Linked DNA regions of Homo sapiens: regions 1 and 3 are each linked to region 2. The links are contacts of gene promoters, found by promoter capture Hi-C in human tissues and cell types (Jung and others, 2019). All regions are on one chromosome and are shown on one strand. Each heading gives the region's core, a stretch centred on a gene start or on the middle of the fragment in contact. The rest is flanking DNA. Distances are from core to core; before and after follow the strand shown.

What was found. Contacts are between HindIII fragments. The study calls those that stand out against the background at their distance.
Region 1: the fragment with the promoter of PGLYRP1 here is called in contact with a fragment that was not itself captured in region 2 in 2 of the 25 tissues and cell types used here (aorta and dorsolateral prefrontal cortex).
Region 3: a contact is called between the fragment with the promoter of NOVA2 here and a fragment that was not itself captured in region 2, in 3 of the 25 tissues and cell types used here (aorta, dorsolateral prefrontal cortex and mesenchymal stem cells).

The regions. Positions count from the first base shown.
Region 1 is chr19:46,021,777-46,024,476 of GRCh38, reverse strand. It overlaps PGLYRP1 (peptidoglycan recognition protein 1), which reads left to right and starts at 1,424. Exons shown (of 3, transcript NM_005091.3): 1 at 1,424-1,742. The coding sequence starts at 1,456. RefSeq lists an enhancer at 1,931-2,700. The HindIII fragment of the contact is 20,258 bases long and covers 1-2,700 here.
Region 2 is chr19:46,542,689-46,545,388 of GRCh38, reverse strand. It overlaps the pseudogene PPP5D1P. Among named protein-coding and RNA genes, the nearest start is that of PNMA8B, 48 kb to the right of the region's middle. The HindIII fragment of the contact is 3,360 bases long and covers 1-2,700 here.
Region 3 is chr19:45,972,532-45,975,231 of GRCh38, reverse strand. It overlaps NOVA2 (NOVA alternative splicing regulator 2), which reads left to right and starts at 1,367. Exons shown (of 4, transcript NM_002516.4): 1 at 1,367-1,965. The coding sequence starts at 1,881. RefSeq lists a silencer at 1,042-1,201. The HindIII fragment of the contact is 35,305 bases long and covers 1-2,700 here.

The DNA of each region.
Region 1 (2,700 bases), core at 175-2,674, 520 kb after region 2:
TAAAAGATCCACAATGCTGAACTGATACTATAGCATATTGTGCAACTATTATAAAGAATAAATTAGAATTAGATGTACTGCCCTGGTGAGATGCCCATGAAATATTAGGTGACAAAAGGTAAATTGATGCACATGGTTTTGATTTTTTTTTTTAATGTCCTTATATAAGTTTGTAGGGAGGAGAATACGGTTTATAACTCTGCAGGCAGAAAGCCTGTAGCCAAACCCTGGCTTCATCACCTCCTGTATGTGATCATCCCCCCGGGCCTCAGTTCCGTCAACTGTAAGAGGGGTTAATAATAACATGGATCTGGCAAGCTTGTCGTTGAGTATATGATAATTTCTGAAAAGTGCTACAGATGCCTGGTGCACAATTCAGTAACAGCATGAGTACAATGTATATGAGAAGGCAGAACACAGAAGATGAAAACACACCACACAGGTCAGGCACGGTGGCTCATGCCTATAGTAATCCCAGCACTCTGGAACACTGGCAGGTGGCTCACCTGAGGTCAGGAGTTCGACACCAGCCAGGCCAACATGGCAAAACCCCGTCTCTACCAAAAATATAAAAATTAGCTGGGCGTGGTGGTGTGCACTTGTAATCCCAGCTACTCAGGAGGCTGAGGCAGGAGAATCACTTGAAGCCAGGAGGCGGAGGTTGCAGTGGCCCAAGATCGCACCATTGCACTCCAGCCTGGGTGACAAGAGCAAAACTCCATCTCAAAAAAAAAAAAAAAAAAAAAGGAAAATATTATTTATAAAATAGAAAATTAAAAAAAAAATTTTAAATACACATTTTTAAAAACCACTTGCAGGCTCTCACACACTGCATATCCAGGATTCACATGCAGGCAGCCTGGCTCTAGACGCGGGGCTCCAGTGCCTCCGGTGTCTCAGCCCGTGACTTCCCTGCTCTCAACCTCAGTTTACTCCACTGTGAAATGGACTTCCAGATACTCACCTCTTGAGTTTGCTGCAAGCGTAAATGGCATCAGGCTTGGACCTGGGGGAAGGAAGTGTTTTTAAAATGGGTAGCTTTGTTACCTCAGTCCTTGCGGGGAGAAGATGTGCCAATGCCCCGGGCCTCTGCGATGTAAGTTCCTGTTGAGTTGTTCAATGTTCCACTGAGAGGAGAGACAAGCAGGACCGGGATCCCGGCCCCGGGTCTTCCAGAAACGGCGGGGCGAAGCGCCCAGGGGCCTGTGCGTCCCTCCCTGCTGAGCGAGGGGGCCTGTCATTGCCGTGGGCGTGACCCAGACCCCAACCACAGTGCATCCCGCCCTGGCCCAGCCAGAGAAGGAAGCTGAGTCTGGGGTCTGCTGGGCCAGCAGGAAGTCCCAGCAGGGTGTGAAGCAAGACTTTCCGGGCCACTCCTGGAATCCCCCAGCAGATAAAGGCGGCCCCTCCACCGGGCGCTCCTAGCGGTCTCCCGGACCCTGCCGCCCTGCCACTATGTCCCGCCGCTCTATGCTGCTTGCCTGGGCTCTCCCCAGCCTCCTTCGACTCGGAGCGGCTCAGGAGACAGAAGACCCGGCCTGCTGCAGCCCCATAGTGCCCCGGAACGAGTGGAAGGCCCTGGCATCAGAGTGCGCCCAGCACCTGAGCCTGCCCTTACGCTATGTGGTGGTATCGCACACGGCGGGCAGCAGCTGCAACACCCCCGCCTCGTGCCAGCAGCAGGCCCGGAATGTGCAGCACTACCACATGAAGACACTGGGCTGGTGCGACGTGGGCTACAAGTGAGTGTGGCAGGGGGGCACGGGCTGGACTGGGGATCCCAGAGGCAAAGGTGTGCAAGTGCCCGCCAGCGGGACCATTTCTAGGCCTGGTGCTGAGGCCACCTGGCTGACACCCTGAGCAGCTTACTGAACCTCACAAGGTCATTTCTTCCTCGGGTCACCACGTGGGCCGGGGCAGGTGCTCACAGCACAAAGATGCGTGAGAAGGGGGGATGGGCTGAAATCCAAGCCCCGCTCCCGCTCCCGGGAAGAAGGGGCAGGCTTTGCCTAACACACACCAAGGTGTCCGCGACGCCTTATGAAGGCGCCCCTTCCTGATGCCTGGTGCCTTTGTTAGGAGGCGGAAAACCAGGCTGACTCAGTGCGGAGCTGGGTTCCAGGGTCAGCTCATCTTATTGCTGGCTGAGGCCTGGGGCGGGTCCTCCCGGCTTCAGCTTCCTCCTCGGCAAAGTCAATGGAATCGCGGCCCATCTGCTCCTTATATGAGCCAATACAGGCAAAGCACCTAGGAACTGCCTGGCACACGGGGGCCCGCAAAGCCACGGGCTATTACCATTAGGCACCTACTATGTGCCAGGCAGTGTGCCAGATGTGGCATGGAGAACGGTGCCACTCTAGCCTCCTGGGGTTGAAAGACCAGCAGGGAGAAACAAGCCAAGGCCACAGGTGAATTCAGACGGTGATAGAGGCGATGGATAAAAGGAAAGAGGTGAGGGAGGGTGACCTCAGGCTGGGACCAGACCCACACAGGCTCCTTGGAAGGGTGGGGCAAGGGAAAGCCTCCCTGAGAGTGGCTGCCTTGGCTCTGGGATGGGGGAGCAGACAGAGGCCTGCAGGTGGCAGGGGGTGCTGGGGGCAAAGCCAACGGGGTTGAGTGGGCGGGTCCTGTGGGAAGGACAGGGTGGCTGAACACAGCCGGGCGAGCGGAATGAAATGAGGAAAGGGCAGGACCAGGCAG
Region 2 (2,700 bases), core at 146-2,645:
TGCCTCCTGGGTTCAAGCGATTCTCCTCCCTCAGCCTCCTGAGTAGCTGGGATTACAGGTGCCTGCCACCATGCCCAGCTGATTTTTGTATTTTTAGCAGAGATGGGGTTTCACCATGTTGGCTAGGTTGGTCTTGAACTCCTGACCTCAAGTGAGCCTGCCTCGGCCTCCCAAAGTGCTGGGATTATAGGCACGAGCCACCACACATGACTCAAAGGCTAAACTCTTGAGAGTGGGCCATGCTGCCCCAAGAAGCTCCACTGGATTTATTTGAAGGTCCTTGCCAAATCAGTTGGGGAAAAAAAGGCAGATTCAGCCCATGGATCCTTAAGTACCACTCGAAGAGTGGCATGCTTTTCCCAAATGTCACCTTTTGTCTTTAAGGCAAAGGTGGTGCCAGATCTTCAGCTCTCATGTCTCCTGCACAAACTCTCCCAGGCGTGAGAAGAGACTCCACTCTGCAGAAACTCTGTCTCTAAGGGGGAAGTGACAGTCAGAGAAGGGAACAGGGATATTACTGAGGCCAGAAGGCCCCTCTCCCCTCAGTGAGGCCCACGCTCGTGCCCAAAGCCTGTCTGTCTTCCTAAATAATGCAGTGTGGAAGAGTAGAGGCTTTGCAGCCAAGCAGACAGGATTTCATAACCCTGGTTCCAGTACTTCCCAGTGTGTGATCTTGGACCATCAACTGGGCCTCTGAACCTCAATCTCCTCCTCTATAAAAGTGGCACAATGGCCGCAGGCGGTGGCTCACGCCTGTAATCCCAGCATTTTGGGAGGCCGAGGTGGGCGGATCACTTGAGGTCAGGAGTTTGAGACCAGCCTGGCCAACGTGGCGAAACACTGTCTCTACTAAAAATACAAAAATTAGCCGGGCGTGGTGGTGGGCACCTGTAATCTCAGCTATTCAGGAGGCTGAGGCAGGAGAATCACTTGAACCCAGGAGGCGGAGGTTGCAGTGAGCCGAGATAGTGCCATTGCACTCCAGCCTGGGCAACAAGAGCAGAACTCTATCTCAAATAAAACCCAGAAAACCAAAAAAAAAAAAAAAAAAAAAAACCCAAAACAAAACAAAAAGAAAAAACAAAAACAACAACAACAAAAAATGGCACAGTAATAGCTTAATTCCCAAGCTTGTTCAGGATTTTGTGGGTCAGGAATGTGAAAAGGGTTTGACTGGATGTTCATTTCTGTTCCACGTGGCATCATGTGATGAGGGCTGGAGGACCCACCTCCAAGATGGCTTCTTCACTCCCATGTCTGGAAGCTTCAATTCTCCTGGGCCTTCTCACAGCTCCATGCTCTTAGGGGAGCTGCAATTCTTTTTTTATTATTTATTTATTTATTTATTTGAGACGGAGTTTCGCTCTGTCGCCTAGGCTGGAGTGCAGTGGCCGCGATCTGGGCTCACTGAAAGCTCCACCTCCTGGGTTCACACCATTCTCTTGCCTCAGTCTCCCGAGTAGCTGGGACTGCAGGCGCCTGCCACCACGCCCGGCTAATTTTTGTATTTTTAGTAGAGACGGGGTTTCACCGTGTTAGCCAGGATGGTCACGATCTCCTGACCTCGTGATCCGCCGCCTTGGCCTCCCAAAGTGCTGGGATTACAGGCGTGAGCCACCGCGCCCGGCTGGGGAGTTGCAATTCTTACACAGTAGCCTGGGAGCCAAAGAGATCACGACGGAATCTGCTGGTTCCCTTAAAATGTAGATCCAGGCCTGGCGGTGTCACTTGTTTGTTTGTTTGTTTGTTTGTTTAGACAGGGTCTCGTTCTGTCACCCAGGCTGGAGTGCAGCGGCGCCATCATAGCTCACCGCAGCCTCTACCTCCTAGGCTCAAGGGATCCTCTTGCCTCAGCCTCCCGAGTAGCTGGGACTACAGGTGCGGGCCACCACGCCAGCCTATTTTTAAAAGTTATATTTTTGGCCGGGAGTGGTGGCTCACGCCTGTAATCCCAACAGTTTGGGAGGCGGAGGTGGGTGGAAGTCGGGAGTTCAAGACCAGCCTGACCAACATGGATATACCCTGTCTCTACTAAAAATACAAAATTAGCCACGTGCGGTGGCGGACCCCTGTCATTCCAGCTACTCGGGAGGCTGAGGCAGGAGAATCGCTTGAACCCAGGAGGCGGAGTCTGTGGTGAGCCGAGATCACGCCATTGCACTCCAGCCTGGGCGACAAGAGCGAAACTCCGTCTCACAACAAAACAAAAAAGTTATTTTTAGTAGAGTTGGGGTCTTTCTGTGTTGCCCAGGTTGGTCTTGCAGTCTTGGGATCAAGCGATCCGCCCACCTCTGCTTCTCGGTGTTGGAATTACAGGCGTGAGCCGCCATGCCCAGCACAGTGTCACATCTGTCATATTCTATGGGTCAAAGCAGTCAAGGGTTCTTTCTCAATCAGACTAAGACCAACAGGAACAAGCTTATTGTATTAATTTGCTAGGGCAGCCTTAACAGACAAGAAGGGAGGTGAGTCGCCTTTTAGTTTAAGTAGATACGGTCATGCTATTCTCTAATTGGCCACCAGATGGCGCGCTGGACTTACTATTAGTACAGTTTGTAATTGCCCTTCCGAGAGTGGCCACCGCCACTCAAGCGACTGGACACTGGACTAAGTGCTTCTGTTAATTTGGATAAGACAAGACTCTCACTTTCTTTGATAAAATATAAATCTAGAAGAGCCCTAGGCTTTTATTGCATCATG
Region 3 (2,700 bases), core at 118-2,617, 570 kb after region 2:
CATCAAGGAACACAGAATAATAGCAATGATCCATTCCAAAGAAAGGCACCCTAGTTCCAATGACTTTGGGCTCTGAAATTGGACTTGTCCTGCGTTCTCATCCCAGTTTCTCTCTCTCAAGCTGTGTGCCCTTGAAGAAGCCACCCTCAATGTTCCCAGGCCTCCACTTTGTCATCTGAAAACAAATTTTTCTTAATGACATGAGTAGTAATACTGTACAAGGGCCAAGGCTGTTTTGTTCTCTATTGTATCGCAGCATCAGGGACAGTGCCTGGCACTTAGTAGGTAGGCCCTGAGTGCTGTTGTTTGAATGGAGAGCCAGTTGTGCCCCAGGGCAGGTGCTGCAGGCTGCAACTCCAGCTCAGTGAATTCAATCCTCTGAGCCCTTTCAGCATCACGGTGTTGATTCTTCAAAGGATGGATGAAAGATTTGAAGGGGAATTTCCCAGCTGAAAGGATTGAAAAAGAGTGAAGTGAAATTTCTTTCTCTTTCTTTCTTTCTTTTTTTTTTTTTTTTTTGAGACAAGGTTTTGCTCTGTCTCCCAGGCTCGAATCTAGTTGCTTGATCATGGCTGACTGCAGCCTCAAACTCCTGTGCTCAAGAGATCCTCCCACCTCAGACTCCAGAGTACCTGGGGCTACAAGCATGTGCTACCACGCCTGGCTAATTAAAAAAAAAATTTTTTTTTTGTAGAGATGGGGTCTCACAATATTGTTGCCCAGCTCGTCTCAAACTCCTGGGCTCAAGTGATTCTTCCGCCTCGGCCTCCCAAAGTGCTGGGATGACAGGCATGAACCACCGCGCCTAGTCGAAATTTCTTGTCTTGACCAAGTGAAGTCAAAGTAAGCTCCTAAGGCTGTTTCCTCATCTGTAAAATAGGGATAATAAGCGTAACTCACAGAGCTGGTCGCTCTGGGGAGTAAATGCGATAACGTCTGTGACGTGCTTGCTTGGAACCGGACCTGGCACACAGTAAGTGCTCAATAAACGTTCATTCAAGGTGAGGAGTGGGGACGGCTTGGAGGAGCCCGGGGTCCTCCCAGCAGCCTGGGGGAGTCGGGTCCAGCTCTCTGCCGCCGGGAGGGGCGTGGCCAACCCAGAGGGACGTGGTCCAGGCTTCAAGGCTGGACCAATGGGGGCGCCGAAGGGCGTGGCCCTACCCGGCATGGGCGTGACCTCGTTGGGTGGGAGGGGCCAGGCGCTGTGGGAGCCTCCGGGAAGAAGATGCTCGGGCCAGCAGCCACCGCCAGCCCCGTCGCCGCCGCCGCCCGCGCCCGCCGCCCCCCGGGCCCCCACTAGCGGCCGCCTCCGCCTCCCACTCCGGCCACGCTCCTCCGGCCCCCCACCCCGAGCAGGGTCTGGGGGGCTCGGCCCTCTTGCCCCAGGGAGCCAAGAAGAAGCGGGGAGTCCCGTCCCCCCAGTGGCGCGTCCAGTCCCCAGCCTCTGTGGTCCCAGGAGAGACCCCACCTCTCAGTTCTTTCCCGGCCCTATCGGAGACCCCCCTCGGCCCTGCCATCCTGCTCACGGCCGCTCTCCAGGCTCTGTCAGCCCCCCGAGAACCGGCTCCCCCCTACCCCCGCCTTCCCTCTCCGGGGCTCCCCCTCCCCCATCCCTCCACCGCCCCCTCCCCCTCCCACCTCCCCTCCCCTCCCCCTCCCCCGCCCCCCGCCCCCCGCCCCCCCCCACCATGAGGATGATGGCCGCCGGCGCGGTGCACGGCCTCTTCACGGCCTCCGCGGCCCCGCAGCCGCCGCCGCCCCCGCCGCCGCCGCCGCCGCAACCCCAGCCTCCCCAGCAGCCGTCGCCGCCGCCACAGCAGCCGCCGCCGCCGCCGCCGCAGCCGCCGCAGCAGCAGCAGCCGCCGCCCCAGGCCCCCCCCATGGAGCCCGAGGCCCCGGATTCCCGCAAGAGGCCCCTCGAAACGCCCCCCGAGGTGGTCTGCACCAAGCGCAGCAACACGGGAGGTGAGAAAGGGCTGCGGCTCGGGGCGGGGGAGCGGGCAGGGGGCCTCGCCTTTCTCCATCCTTTCCCCCCCTCCCGTGGCAGGTGCAAGGGCTCTGGGGAGGGGAGAGACACCCCTCCCCGAGGCGGGGGACAGAGCGGGGAGTTGAGGAGGGGGCTGGACCCCCTCCTCCTCTCGCTGAGGCCCGGGGCTGGGAGCTTTGTCTGCGAGGAGAGGGGTGGGGGGGAGGGGGTGATAAGTGTCCTTGGGGGGCGCAGAAGATGGGGGGCGTGGGAGCCTCAGGGCAGGTGTCTGTGTGTCCTTGAGGGGTGTGTGATGTGACCCTTTCGGAGCAGGGGTGTTCCCCGAGCTCGCGTGTCCTGGCTGGGGGAGGGGAAGGAGTAGAGGCCTGTGGACCGGGAGCTTCCCAGCCTCCCTCCCTGGGGATGTCCTGAACAAGGGTTGTCCCAGATGGAGGCTTGTGTGGCCCTGGCCGGATCGTGCGTGGGGACAGGCTGGGTAGGTGTGTGGGGTGAAATGGAGGAAATGGTGGGTGTGTAAAGCTAGGTGGGAGAATGTGAGGCTAGGACAGGTGTGTATGTGTGTGCGTGTGTGTGTATGTGTGCCCTCTACAGCCTGGATGTGTGACATTAGGGATCAGGAATATGACAGCATAGGGGGGTGTATGAGAAAGACAGGGGACAGGGGCTGGGCTCCATGTTTGAGACCCTCCAGCGGGTACGTGTGACAAGGAAAG